Regions from separate parts of the Homo sapiens genome. Here region 2 is linked to region 1. The links are contacts of gene promoters, found by promoter capture Hi-C in blood cells and fetal thymus (Javierre and others, 2016). All regions are on one chromosome and are shown on one strand. Each heading gives the region's core, a stretch centred on a gene start or on the middle of the fragment in contact. The rest is flanking DNA. Distances are from core to core; before and after follow the strand shown. Region 1 holds the start of HSPB1 (heat shock protein family B (small) member 1). Region 2 holds the start of LOC102723791 (a long non-coding RNA gene).

What was found. The method cuts DNA at HindIII sites, captures the fragments that hold promoters and counts their contacts. A CHiCAGO score of 5 or more calls a contact.
Region 2: a contact is called between a fragment that was not itself captured here and the fragment with the promoter of HSPB1 in region 1, in 1 of 17 cell types (total B cells). The highest score is 5.0, in total B cells.

Annotation. Positions count from the first base shown.
Region 1 is chr7:76,296,432-76,303,922 of GRCh38, reverse strand. It overlaps HSPB1 (heat shock protein family B (small) member 1), which reads right to left and starts at 1,250. Exons shown (of 3, transcript NM_001540.5): 1 at 847-1,250; 2 at 58-121. The coding sequence starts at 1,210. RefSeq lists a silencer at 4,217-4,511. The HindIII fragment of the contact is 12,431 bases long and covers 1-7,491 here.
Region 2 is chr7:77,271,058-77,278,548 of GRCh38, reverse strand. It overlaps CCDC146 (coiled-coil domain containing 146), which reads right to left. Exons shown (of 19, transcript NM_020879.3): 10 at 4,760-4,855; 11 at 3,897-4,067. It overlaps LOC102723791 (a long non-coding RNA gene), which reads left to right and starts at 197. Exons shown (of 6, transcript XR_927688.3): 1 at 197-405; 2 at 974-1,035. RefSeq lists a silencer at 6,773-6,955. The HindIII fragment of the contact is 729 bases long and covers 4,010-4,738 here.

The sequences.
Region 1 (7,491 bases), core at 1-2,500:
CTTCCCTGACCCCACCCCCACGCCACCCACCCACCCCGACCTGGCGCCAGGACTCACGTGTATTTCCGCGTGAAGCACCGGGAGATGTAGCCATGCTCGTCCTGCCGCTCCTCGTGCTTGCCTTTGGGGGGAAGAGGGAAATCAGACTGCGGGGGAGGGGACTGCCTTTCGGCCCCGCTAGGCCAGAGGCCCCACCTCCTGCTTGGAAGCAGCCAGGACTGCAGGCTGGTAGGGATTAACAGAGGGGGTTGGGGATGGGGGCGTGCCCGCCGGTCTGGGCTCTCAGAAACTTCCGGAAAGTTCTTCGATTCAGAGTTTTGGGAGGAACGGAGCAGGGCGCGGAGCTGGGGAGTGAGCAGTACGCAGGCGCACTTGGAGCCGCGCACACGCCCACTCAGCGGCTAGAAACTGGCACCGCGCCAGGGAACTCCCCGCTTATCTGGGGATGGGGCTGTGGGTGGGAAGGGGACTCTGTAGAAAAGCGCATTTTCTCTCTTCATCGATGATCTTTAAAAAAATTTTTGTTTGCTTTTTTTTTGTAATGGCGCGGGGTCGGGGCGGGGGGGCGCGTCTCGCTATGTTGCCCAGGCTAGTCTTGAACTCCTGGCCTCAAGCGATCCTCCCGTCTCGGCCTCCCAAAGCGCTGGGATTACAGAGCAGAAAGCGCCCTTAGAAGCGACCCGCACTCCCAATTCCTGAGCAAGGGAATCAGGAGTCCTGTTTTTCCCGGTGCTGGGCCAACGTTTAACTCCCCAGGCCCCCGGGACCCCCGTTTCAACCGCACGCCCCCGGCCCTGCCCGCCCTGCTAGCCTCCTCCTCTCCCCTGCAGGAGCAGGGGGGCTCACCGGTGATCTCCACCACGCCATCCTTGGTCTTGACCGTCAGCTCGTCCGGGGCGAAGTGGTTGACATCCAGGGACACGCGCCAGCGGTCCGCAGTGTGCCGGATCTCCGAGACCCCGCTGCTGAGTTGCCGGCTGAGCGCGCGGCTGTAGGCGGGCGCGGCCACTGCGGGGCTCTCGATGGCGGCGGGGGGCAGGGGGCGCACGTAGCCTGGCCAGCTGCTGCCGCCTAACCACTGCGACCACTCCTCCGGCAGCCGGGGCAGCCCGAAGGCCTGGTCGAAGAGGCGGCTATGCGGGTACCAGTCGCGGAAGGGGTCCCAGCTGGGGCCCCGCAGGAGCGAGAAGGGGACGCGGCGCTCGGTCATGCTGGCTGACTCTGCTCTGGACGTCTGCTCAGAAAAGTGCGGGGCGCTGGGCTCGGCTGCGCTTTTATGCTCCTCCAGTCGGGTATTTTTAGCAGGCGGTGTTTGAGGTCTCTATTAATGGCAATGACCCGTTTGAGGGCCGCCCCTCCCCATGCACTCCTCCCCCAGCGTTCAGGGGCCGTGGGCGGGGCGAAGAGGGTTCAGCCCTCATCTGGAACCTTCTCTCGTTAAGGAAAGCAAATGAATTCGAGAGCGCGACGCTGGAGCCGTGCCACGGCAGGGCACTCGCCGGCCCTGGTGCTTAAGCGTTGCTGGCTGTGGCCCGTGGCCAGGGCCGTCCTTCTGTTAAGGAGGACAGAGCCAGACAGGTTGGGTTGGGGCATACAACTGAGAAGTGGCAGAGGCAGGATTGGAACCACACGCGTGTGAGATAGAATGTGATAAAAGGAGTCTGGTGCTTGAGCCCAGGAGTTGAGGCTGCAGTGAGCTATGATCTCACCACTGCACTCCAGCCTAGGCAACAGATCAAAGTCTTGTCTCTCAAAAAAATTTTAAAAAGGGGCTGGGTGCATGGCTCATGCCTGTAATCTCAGCACTTTGGGAGGCCAAGGCAGAAGGGTCCCTTGAGGCTAGGAGTTTGAGACCAGTCTGGGCAACATAGTGAGACCCTACTTCTACCAAAAAATATTTAAAAATTAGCTGGGCATGGTGGTGCATGCCTGTGGCCCCAGCTACTCCAGAGGCTGAAGCAGGAGGATCCTTTGAACCCCGGTGAGTAGAGGCTGTGGTGAGCTGGATTGCACCACTGCACTTCAGCCTGGGCTACAGAGCAAAACCCTGTCTCAAAATAAGTAAATGAATAAATACAAATACAAAAATAAAGCAGTCTGGGCTGGGCGTGGTGGCTCACGCCTGTAATCCCAGCACTTTGGGAGACCGAGGTGGGAGGATCACCAGAGGTCAGGAGTTTGAGACCAGCCTGGCCAACATGGTGAAACCCCATCTCTACTAAAAATACAAAAATTAGCTGGGTGTGGTGGCGGGCGCCTGTAATCGCAGCTGCTGGGGAGGCTGAGGCAGGAGAATTGCTTGAACCCAGAAGGCAGAGGTTGCAGTGAGCCGAGATCTCACCACTGTACTCCAGCCTGGGTGACAGAGTGAGACTCCATCTCAAAAAAAAAAAAAGAAAAAAGAAAAAAGCAATCTAGTAATCTGGTGTGGTTGTTAGGCGTGTGGACTTTGAAGCCAGACTGCCTGAATTCACATCTTTGTTCCATCACTAAGCAGATGAACTTGTGCAAGTTAGATTCTTTGTGCCTCAGTTTCCCCATCTGGAAAATAGAGATGATAATGATGGTAACAGTCATGCATTGCATAAAGATGTGTAAGTCAGCAAGGGACAGCAAATATGAAGGTGGTCCCATAAAATTATATTACTGGCTGGGTGCAGTGGCTGACATCTGTAATCTTAGCACTTTGGGAGGCTGATGTGGGAGGATTACTTGAAGCCAGAAGGCTGGAACAAGCCTGGGCAACACAGTGAGACCCCATCTCTACTAAAATTCAGAACAAATTAGCCAGGCATGGTGGCGTGGACCTGTAGTCCCAGATACTCAGGAGGCTGAGGTGGGAGGAGCACTTGAGCCAAGGAGGTCGAGGCTGCAGTGAGCCTGATGGTGCCACTGCACTCCAGTCCGCATGACAGAACAAGACCCTGTCTCAAAACAAACAAACAAAAACAATTACCGTGTTTTTACTGTACATCTTCTATGTTTTATTTATTTATTTATTTATTTATTTTGAGATGGAGTCTCCCTCTGTCGCCCAGGCTGGAGTGCAGTGGCCTGATCTAGGCTCACTCCAACCTCTACCTCCCAGGTTCAAGTGATTCTTCTGCCTCAGCCTCCTGAGTAGCTGGGACTACAGGCAAGTGCCGCGACACTGGCTAATTTTTGTATTTTTAGTACAGATGGGGTTTCACCATGTTCGCCAGGCTGGTCTTGAACTCCTGACCTCAAGTAATCCACCCGCCTGGGCCTCCCAAAGTGCTAGGATTACAGGCGTGAGCCACCGCGCCTGGCCATCTTCTATCTTTAGAAACACTAATACTTACCCTCATGTTGCAGCTGCCTTCAATATTTGGTGCAGTCATATGCTGTAGAGGTTTGTAGCCTAGGAGCAGTAGGCTAGACCATATGGCTTAGGTGTGTAGTAGGCTAGACCATCTAGGTTTGTGTAAGTCCACTCTGAGATGTTCCCACAATGATGAAATTGCCTAACAAGGAATTTGTTGAATGTGTCTGTTATTAAGTGACTCATGACTGTAATGGGTTGGCCTGAGGATTTGGTGACCTAATGCAGGTGATGACTTTGGCCCGGAGCCTGGTACATCATAATTATTGTTACCTGCCTGGGATTGAAGAGAGGGAAAAGGAAGGAGAATACATGGGGTTTGGCCATTTTCCCCCTTCCCCTAACAGCGCAGCTGGCCCAGATCAGAACCTCCATGGCACAGTGCTGAGAGGGGCCAGGAGGAAGATTACTGTCACATCTCCTACTATATGTATCTTTCCTTAAGAAGCACTGGTTGGCCGGGCGTGGTGGCTCCCACCTGTAATCCCAGCACTTTGAGAGTCTGAGGCAGACTTATTGCCTGGGTTCAGGAGTTCAAGACCAGCCTGGCCAACATGCCGAAACCCCGTGTCTGCCAAAAATACAAAAAATTAGCCAGGTGTGATGGGTGCCTGTAATCCCGGCTACTGGGGAAGCTGAGGCACGAGGATCATTCCAGGAGGCAGAGGTTGCGGGGAGCTGAGATCGCGCCACTGCACTCCAGCCTCGGTGACAGAACGAGACTCTGTCTCAAACAAAAAAGAAAAAACAAAAAAGAAAAAGAAACACTGGCCAGGAACCTCAAATGCCGCAAACTTGAATTAGTCTGGACTTCCTGTGTCATTCTGGGCAAATCCCCTCCTTTCTCTAGGCCTCAGTTTCCCTTTCTGCAGATTTTGATGCCCACATCACAGAGGGAGAGGGGAGCTCCAAGTAGTAGAGTCTGCACAGAAGTGCTTAGAGCCTGGAGCTTGCCCCTTGACCCTACCTCATCCATCTAAACACCAATGGGATCCTGGCTCCTATCTCCCAGCTTGGAGGGAGGGTGCTGCCCTAGGCTCCTGCCACAACCCTGACATTCCCTCTTTCCTGTCTTTGTAGGCATGGCCATTCCAGCCTTCCTTCTCCCCTGACTTAGGTCCCTGTTTTAGTTGTTGTTGTTTTTTTTTTTTTTGTCTTTTTTTTTTTTTTTTTTTTGAGCCAGAGTCTCACTCTATCACTCAGGCTGGAGTGCAGTGGCGCAATCTCAGCTCACTGCAACCTCCGCCTCCTGGGTTCAAGCGATCCTCCTGCCTCAGACTCCCAAGTGGCTGGGATTACAGGCATGTGCCACCATACCCGGCTAATTTCTGTATTTTTAGTAGAAACGGGGTTTCGCCATGTTGGTCTCAAACTCCTGACCTCAAGTGAGCCGCCTGCCTTGGCCTCCCAAAGTGCTGGGATTACAGGCATGAGCCACCACACCCGGCTAATTTTTGTATTTTTAGTAGAAACAGGGTTTCGCCATGTTGGTCTCAAACTCCTGACCTCAAGTCAGCCACCTGTCTCGGCCTCCCAAAGTGCTGGGATTACAGGTGTGAGCCACCGCACCCGGCCCTGTTATCCCTGGTTTTTAGACAAGGAAACTGCTGTGCACAGAGATTAAATGGCTTTCTGCTGTCTCCGGTAAAGTGCTCTCAGAGCCAACCTCCTGCCTCTCTAGTACCCAGGGCCTCCCACTTCTTCTGTCCCACTGTACTTGCTGTCCCTATCCTGGGACTGAGGCTCCACTCCTCCTACTTCTATGGGGAGCCAAGGCCACTGAAGTCTTGCCCTGCCCAGGCCCAGAATCGGGGCAGACTCCAGGCCACTCACCTTGATGAGCTGGGGAAGCAGCAAGTCCTCATGCCTTCTCTGAGCCTCAGTTTCCTTTTTGAGAGAGAGCTCATAAATGCCTTTCTCTCTCTCCTTTTTTTTTTTTTTTTTTGTTGAGACAGAGTCTCGCTGTGTTGCCCAGGCTGGAGTGCAGTGGAGTGATCATAGCTCATTGCAGTCTTGACCTCCTGGGCTCAAGTGATTCTTCTGCTTCAGCCTCCTGAGTCACTGGGACTACAGATGTGTGCCACCACACTTGGCTAATTTTTAAATTTTTTGTAGAGACAGGTGTCGCACCATGTTGCCCAGACTAGTCTTGAACTCCTGGCCCCAAGAGATCTTTCTGCCTAGGCCTCCCAAAGCACTGGGATCACAGGCGTGAGCCACTGCGCCCGACCTAGATGCCTTTCTTTCTTTCTTTTTTTTTTTGAGACGGAGTCTCACTCTGTCACCCAGGCTGGAGTGCAGTGGTGCGATCTTGGCTCACTGCAAGCTCCGCCTCCCGGGTTCACGCCATTCTCCTGCCTCAGCCTCCAGAGTAGCTGGGACTACAGGCGCCCACCACCACGCCCGGCTAATTTTTTGTATTGTTTTTTTTTTTTTTTTAGTAGAGACAGGGTTTCACTGTGTTAGTCAGGATGGTCTTGATCTCCTGGCCTCGTGATCCACCTGCCTCGCCTCCCAGAGTGCTGGGATTACAGGTGTGAGCCACCGGCCCTAGATGCCTTTCTGTCTTACCCACCTGCTCCCCATCAGGGAAGAGCTGGGGCTGGACCATGAATCTGAGATCACTCCTGGAAAGGCCTCTGAACTCCTGGGGCTCTCGGGAGCCAATGGTGGGAGGCAGACAGGACCCCTGCCTTCTACCTCACCTCCCTGGCTGGGTCATTGTCATGAGCCCAGTGGGTCTCATTTGGGAGCTCCTGGTTGACACCCCATGGGACAGCATCAGAAAGCCCCAGGTTTTTGCTCCCCAGTGCTCCCAGCCCCACCCATCCCCAGCTGTATAAAGTCGAGGTGAGGTCAGGAGCCAGGGAGGGCCCTCATCTGCCTCTGCCTGCTCACCTTGGCCCAGACGGGAGCTGGGGGTGCCCCACCCCAGAGGGAGCTGTCAGGTGTGGTTATAAATGCTTCCAGGTGTGGCTCTATCAGGCCCAGCCATGCTCTGGATGGGAGCTGCCAGCCCTTTGTAGACACAAGCTCCCTTCATCTTGCCTGAAACCAGGACGGACTGGATCTATTCCTGCTGCCTGAGAGATTGTGCAACTCAAGGCACCAAACCCACACACTCTGCTCACTCCCTCGGAATTCACGTTCATCTTCAAGGGCTCAGTTTTGTTTTTTTTGAGATGGAGTTTTGCTCTGTTGCGCCGGCTGGAGTGCAGTGGCACAATCTCAGCTCACTACAACCTCTGCTTCCCAGGTTCAAGCAATTCTCCTGCCTCCTGAGTAGGTGGGACTACGGGCGTGCACCACCACGGGCTGGGCGCGGTGGCTAACAGCTGTAATCCCAACACGTTGGGAGGCCGAAGTGGGTGGATTGCTTGAGGTCAGGAGTTCAAGACCAGCCTGGCTAAGGGCTCAGTTCTTGAGGGACGACTTTTAGATCACCCACAAGGGAGAGGAGATGGGTGGTTTCTGGCAGCATGGGGGTGAGGTGGGTGGTAGGGCAGAAACTGGGTTTTGGGGACAGATAGGGCTGGGCTTGAATGTGGGTGCTGCTGTCCTGGTGACCACTCTGAGCCCACATGTCCCTATTTGCAAAGTAGAGCTAGCAACGCCCCTGCCCGTCTGACAGCATTGTGGTCAGTTTCAAGTGCGTGAATGTGTGTAAAGTGCTCGGTGCACAGTAAGCGCTCACGGTGACTGCGAGGGCCTTTAATTGTGGATACTGAGCCTTAGAATAATCAGAATTACCCAGTTCTATGTGGTTTTTTTGTTTTTGTTTTTTTTGGTTGGTTTGTTTTTGAGTCAGAGTCTTGCTCTGTCACCCAGGCTGGAGTGCAATGGTGTGATCTTGGCTCACTGCAACCTCCACCTCCTAGGTTCAAGCAATTCTCCTTCCTCAGCCTCCTGAGTAGCTGCGATTACAGGCACCTGCCACCACGCCCAGCTAGTTTTTGTATTTTTAGTAGAGATGGGGTTTCACCATATTGGCCAGGCTGTTCTCTTAGCCAGGCTGGTCTCAAACTCCTGACCTCGTGATCCACCCACCTTGGCCTCCCAAAGTGCTGGGATTACAGACATGAGCCACCATGCCCGGACATATGTGCTTTATAGAGCGTCAAAGTATCCTATCAGAGTCACTTTTTCTT
Region 2 (7,491 bases), core at 3,125-5,624, 970 kb before region 1:
GCTCGAGCCCAAGAATTCGAGGCTGCAGTGAGCCATGATTGCATCACTCCGCTCCAGCCTGGGCGACAAAGTAAGATCCTGTCTCTCCAAAAAAAAAAAAAAAAAAAAAAAAATTATTTCTTGGCTTGCTGGGTTGTACAGATCAGGGTGAAGGGTAAAAGAGATCTGAAAATTCCCTGGCTAGCTGAACTGATTCACATTGGCTAAGACAAACTGTTAACTGTTACCTAAAGAAGAGAACAAACGAGAGAAGAGAAAACGCAAAGAGCCTGCATGGCTTGGGTTTGAGGAAAAGTTTGGACAACTTTTGAGAGAGAGGAAGAGTGATTTTGAACCACACAGCTGGACTGGGTGAGTGTAGTTTATGGAAAATAGATGAGAGAAGAGGATTCCTAGTAAGTTTTGGTGAGTGTTATAAACTGAACCCTCTGTGGTGTTTTGTCAGAGACTGAAGCAATGATTTTAAAGTGCTTTCCATTCTTTTGTATGTGGGGTGTTTTCCTACATAATAAGGCATCATATTGAGATCAGCTGTAAGGAGGTGTTACACATAAATATTTTAAAAGAAAGCAGTTATATTTCTAGAGTTCTAAAAAATATATCAAGTGCTAAATACACTAGTTATGTTCTTCAAATCAAAAGATACTGGTTCTTGCATCTGGGATAAGAAACATATTCAAAAATGAAGGATTTGCTGGTAGTAAACCAGAGGAAAGAGTTTGTCAGCCTTCTCTCAAGGACTGAGAGCAAAGCCCTTTTGGTATGAGTGATTTGAAAGAAACTAGCCATAGAGCCAAGATTGATGTGTAGCATTTTTCTAATGCTGTTCTCCATGAGAATAGGGGTCAGGAAGAAACGAATATTTAAGTAACTGTACACATGAATAATAAAACAGATGGGAAAATGTAGTGTCATCTATTCTGTCTTAGGGGTGATAGTGACATTGTTTTTTTTTCTTCACCTTTGTCTTTAGGGATGTGGATGCAATGTGAACATAAAAGATTGCCTTCTTATGGAAACTGCAGCTAAGTACAGGTAATGTTTAACACACTAATTCCTAATGCTAAAAATACTCAAGGGATAAACATTTGTCCTTTATCAATTTCTGTATCTCAAGAAGAATTGTCTATTTTGGTTTAATACAAATTAGCTCATTTAATAATGAGGTTTGCTTTACATAGATTAGTCACACATAGATATACATGTATATCAGTTTTTGAAATTAATTGAAAATTATCTAATTCATAAAACGGATCAGTGTTTCTTATAACAAATAAGTATACCTCTGGTGTTTCTGTAATTTCTAAAGAGAAAAGGGAGGAAGTTTCTAACTAGGAAAGACTCACTTGAGTGGGATCTTCCCAGCCAACACCAAGTTGTCCCAGACCCTGACTTGGTGAAGATGGCTTTCTTCTTCCTTCTTTTCCTTCCTTCCCTCCCTCCCTTCCTTCCTTCTTATTCTTTATTTTTCGTTTTTGAGACAGAGTCTCGCTCTGTCACCCAGGCTGGAGTGCAGTGGCGCAATCTCAGCTCACTGCAACCTCCGCCTCCTGGGTTCAAGCGATTCTCATGCCTCTGCCTCCTGAGTAGCCGGGATTACAGGTGCCCACCACCACGCCAGGCTAATTTTTTGTACTTTTAGTAGAGATGGGCTTTCACCATGTTGGGCAGGCTGGTCTTGAACTCCTGACCTCAGGTGATCCACCCGCCTTGGCCTCCCAACGTGTTGGGATTACAGGCGTGAGAGACCGCTCCTGGCCCAAGATGATCTTCCCACATCTCTCCTCTCTCCTCTCCTTGTCCTGCTCCTGCATCTTACCCGCTTAGCCACCCTGTGCTTTGAAGCTGCCTTTCTTTCATCCAGTCCTCCCTGACCACTTCTTTACCTAGTGAAACCCAACTACTCCATGAACTTCACTCTTGCTGCAGCCTTCATTATGGAGTCTAAATTGTTTAACATGGATTAAGTGACTTTCATCATCTGACTTGTCCCGCTCTCTGGTCTCACTATTTGACATCCTTTCTCCCCATCTTCCCATGTGCCAGCCATCCTGAACTTCTTTTAGTTTCTTAAATATTAAAGTAGAAAAATAAACAGTGAAAGGGGGATGTGAAGTGCCTGCAGTGGGTTGTGCAATGTAGATCTTCTCTTTTTTGCAAAAATCTACTTCATACCTCATTGCTCACTAATGCTTTGGCGTGAGTGAGCTCTTTCTGCAGAATGAGAAGAAATACCATTCTATGTAAATCCTTACTTAGACTGAGAACAAGGGATGTGCTTAGAAACAGACCAAACAGACCACATCTGGGTCATGAGATAAATTCTTTTTTTTTTTTATTTTTGAGAGGAAGTCTCGCTCTGTCACCCAGGCTGGAATGCAGTGGTGCGATTTTGGCTCACTACAACCTCCACCTCCTAGGTTCAAACGATTCTCCTGCCTCAGTCTCCCAAGTAGCTGGGATTACAGGCACCTGCCACCATGCCTGGCTAATTTTTGTATTTCAGTAGAGATGGGGTTTCACCATGTTGGTCAGGCTGGTCTCAAACTCCTGACCTCAAGTTATCCACCCGCCTCAGCCTCCCAAAGTGCTGAGATTACAGGCATGAGTCACCATGCCTGGCCTGATAAATTCTTCTATTTTAGTAATATGTAATATCCTGTTTATTTTTAACAGGGAGCTTCTGGGCATGATCTGGACATAATCCTTATATGGAATAAACAATTCTAATGGTAGAATTTTAGCTTGCATGACAGGAGTGCTGCCTTACCATTTGTTTTATTGTTGATTTTAGGGGGGAATGTTGCACTGGCACTTTGTAGGAGGCCCAGGAAAATCATGGTGTGATGAAGCAACTAAGGGTATCTGGCATTCGATTAAATGATGCTGTCTTGATGAAGTTGGGAGGGACAGTTACCTAATGCTACCACTCTTGAGTTGTTCCTGGACAAATCACAGTGGAGTCTGAGATGGGAGTGAAAACTAAATGATATCTGCAGCCTATGCAGCTGCCAGCCCTGTCCACTGGAGGCACCCACTTTATTCTTACTGAAATTGCCATCTGTTCAAATCCTCCGATCATTATCAATGATCTCCTTTCCCATCTAAATTGTTGATTACTGTTAATTGAATCTTGGGACTATCTTTCAGTGCATGATTGAATCTCATTTAGGGAAGATTTATAGTCACTGGTACTTGAAGGAGAGGCACAGTTATAGTGGTTCCTTGGTATACATAGGGAACTGGTTCCAGGACCCTTTGAGAATACAAAAATCCAAGCATATTCAAGCAGTCCCAAAGTTGGCCCTGTGGAACTCACCTGTAAGAAAAGTGGGCCTTCCATATTTGCAGGTTTTGTATTCTGTGAGTACTCTACTTTTGATCTGCATTTGGTTGAAAAAAATCTGTGTATAAATGGACCCATGCAGTTCAAATCCATGTTGTTCAAGGGTCAATTGTATAGCTTTTCTTTTTTTTTTTGAGTTTCCTTCCAGTTCTTTTTTTAATATTTATATATTTTTATTATACTTTAAGTTCTAGGATACATGTGCACAATGTGCAAGTTAGTTACGTATGTATACATGTGCCATGTTGGTGTGCTGCACCCATTAACTCATCATTTACATTAGGTATATCTCCTAATGCTATCCCTCCCCGCTCCCCTCACCCCACAACAGGCCCCGGTGTGTGATGTTCCCCTTCCTGTGTCCAAGTGTTCTCATTGTTCAATTCCCATCTATGAGTGAGAACATGCAATGTTTGGTTTTTTGTCCTTGCGATAGTTTGCTGACAATGATGGTTTCTAGCTTCATCCATGTCCTAATGCACGTGGCATTATAATGAGGCTACCCTGAACTCTTGTAGTTATCAATGAATGGTTAAAAAAATGCAGTTACCTGAGCTTTCAGGAAATCCTTGGACTTTTGTTCCTTTTCATCAATTTTGATTTGAGTCATGCGGAGAAGGTTGACTACTAGCTCTTTCATGTTTTCTTGCTCCTTTAAAAGCTTGTTTTCTTCTGCAAGTTGTTGTTCTACTAACTTAGACTCCATTTCTGATATAATTTTCTTTTGAAAAAAAACACAGATAATATTATAAGTTATTTGTTTGAAGTAATACAGTAAAGCTAGTATCTTAGACTACCTTTTTACTTCCTATACAAAATGTATTTTTTTAAACAGGCCAGGTGTGGTGGCTCACGCCTGTAATTCAAGCCTTTGGGAGGCTGAGGCAGGATGATGACTTGAGGCCAGCAGTTCAAGACCAGCCTGAGCAACATAGCAAGATCCCTCTCTATAAAAAAAATAAAAATTAAAAATAAAGTAATGGTGTTTTAGCTTCATTGTTTTCATTTTGTAAAATAATGTGAAAATCGATGGGTTAACATGATAGAACCTCTTTGTATTTAGACTGTATTTTCAAGTGACTAAGAAAAAGAAGACACATAAAAACAAACGAAAATTTGAAATTAGACATTGGTGAAATAAAACATCTGTGGTTTACTTTTAATGTAATCAACAGCCCATAATTTAAAAATCTCATTCCTTTGAATACTTTTTGCGGTTCAAACATATTCTTTTTTCTCAAATTTAGTGTAGGATTGGAGTGGACTTTGAGATGAAGAAATATGCCCACATGAAGCAGGATCATACTCTCTTTGATGACTCTCTTATTGATAAGGTTTTGTGGAGCACAGTTAAAAGCACAACTTTGTATGAACGCTTCTTAGATAGAAGCTTAAATGAGCATTGATATTAACCTGTTGGGCCAAATTCCTCTTAGCTACTTCAACTTCCTTGTGAAGCTCTCGCCTTCTCTCAGATAATGTAGAATCATCTTTGGGGATAGCTTCCATCTGGAAATCAAAATTTAAAAACATGCATTTATGTAAGAAATAAATCTTTGGGAGGCTGAGGCAGAGAATTGCTTGAACCCGGGAGGCAGAAGTTGCAGTGAGCTGAGATCGTGCCACTGCACTCCAGCCTGGGTGACAGAGTGAGACTCTGTCTGAAAATAAATAAATAAATAAATAAATAAATAAAATTCACTGCTGTGTAGTCAACCTCATCACACACTTTTTGAAAATGCTGAGCAAATCACGAATCTCAATCTTATAAGAACTTCCCTTTATGCCAAATATTCTTTATAAGCCATGGCAAATTAAAATATGAAGACCTGCCAAAAATCTATAATTTGCCAGCTGCAAATGTTTATTATTTAGAAATAAATCTTACTAATAGCTAACATTTATTGAACATAAACCAAGTGTCCAGCAAGGTTCTAAATGCCTGTGTATACGATCTTATTTCATCATTACAATACCCCTCATGAGGTGGGGAATATTTTCTCCAATTGTACAGATGAAGAGAATGAGGCACAAACACATTTAAGCAACTTGCCTCAATGGTGCAGGTGTAAACCCAGGGAGGTAGACTTGGAACCCATGATCTGCCTAACTCATCTAACTCATGACCCAGCACTTTGGAGACATGAATATACTATGACTATTCAAATTATAGTTATTATAAAATGTGAGTACATTTATGAAATTGTATAGGATAAAGAAAAATATGTAATTTATTAATAATAGTGGGGATAGTTTGCTACTTATATATAGTCATTTGATTAGTAGCTGGAAATTTCTTACACAAAAGAAAAGCCTCAACTTTTTGGTTGATACCTAAAATTTCACCATTACATTTCTGTTGTAACGGCTTGCACTTTTCTCCTGTGTTGACGTACTTTAGGGAAAAGGCAAATCTCACTCTTTAAGTCTTTGTTGCCCTATTAGGAATGAGCTTGTCAGATTCTTTGTGATGAAGACGAGAGTAGAGAGGAGGACATGTGGCAGCTGATGGGGAAAGGGTACCATTCAAGGCTACAGGGAGGGTCATCTTGGGGTGCTTCCAGCCTACTTGACTTAGAGCAAGTTTAGAGTTGGCTATTTACACCAAAAGCTCATGACTCCAATCTGATGTGGTTCAGTTCCTACTGTGACAGCACACACTTGTAGGCCCTAAGGTTGAATAATGGCCAAAATTTAGACCCAAGAAAGGAATATCACACTGTCTAGTGATTTGAAGGTTACTTAACAGGATCTTTTTGAGGATCATGCTGCTATGTTAAAGTCACTAAAGTGTGTCTTTGGATGCCCCATCATCCATGAATCAGGGTATCTTCAGTAGCACCTTCTGTACCCTCAGGTGTCCATGTCCTGCTTTTCCATTGGGTCTCCTACCCTGGAGCACTAGCTCTTGAGATGCACACACTGGACTTAGGAAAACGAGATGTGGTCTTGTGAAACATGTCTGACAATATACAGAATGTTGTGGGCTTAACAAACATAAAATTGCTATAGCAGATCAGAAAAGGGAGAACTCAGTATAGAATTGAATAATTGGGAAAGCCTTCCTGGAAGATGTGAATATTCATCAAGGAAGTGTTGATTTCTCCTTTAGGAAAGTCAAGTTAAGACCTCCTGGATAGAGGAACTCCAGCAAACATCCTGGGTCCCTGTCTGATTCTCTGCTACAGGTGTGCCTGGAGTGGGCTGTCCTCATGCTCAGCTCCCGGGTGTCGGCAGATGTAAACGTGAATAACAGGGCCCAGGAACCCTTATGAGGTTTCGACAGAAAATATGATGAGAACACACTCACTAGCTACTATGTCAACTAAAGGCTCTCGACAGATTTTTCTGGCTTGAGGTCTAGACACTTTGGTTATTTCCAATATTTTGAAACACAAACAATACTTCAATAAATTGTATTCATTTTTGAACTCTGGCTACTGCTTCTCTGATACCATTTTAAATTCTCTGTAAAGCCCAGCTCTCTAGTTTCAGGCAGGAATTAGGTAGGCTTGGCTTGTGGAAGAGGTGACATGATAAGCCATTGGTAGCAGAGCCTCCTGGTTGCCTAGCCAATAGCTACCCTCCACCTTGATCTTAGCAACTCTATTAGTCAGGGTTCTTTGTATCTCCATATATATATATATATATATATATATATATATATATATATATATATATATATATATCTCCTATTAGTGTGTGTGTATATATATATATATAAAATAAAAAGGGGAGTTTATTAAGTATTAACTCACAGGATCACAGGGTCCCACAATAGGCCATCTGCAAGCTGAGGAGGAAGGAAAGCCAGTCTGAGTCCCAAAACTGAAGAAACTTGGAGTCCGATGTTCGAGGGCAGGAAGGGTCCAGCACGGGAGAAAGATGTAGGCTGGGAGGCTAGGCCGGTCTCTCATTCACATTTTTCTGCCTGTTTATAGTCTAGCCACACCGGCAGCTGATTAGATTGTGCCCACCCAGATTAAGGGTGGGTCTGCTTTCCCCAGCCCACTGACTCAAAGGTTCATCTCCTTTGGCAACACCTTCACAGACACACCCAGGATCAATACTTTGTATCCTTCAAGCCAATCAAATTGACATTTAGTATTAACCACGACAGCAACAGAATGCTGTTTTTTTTTTTT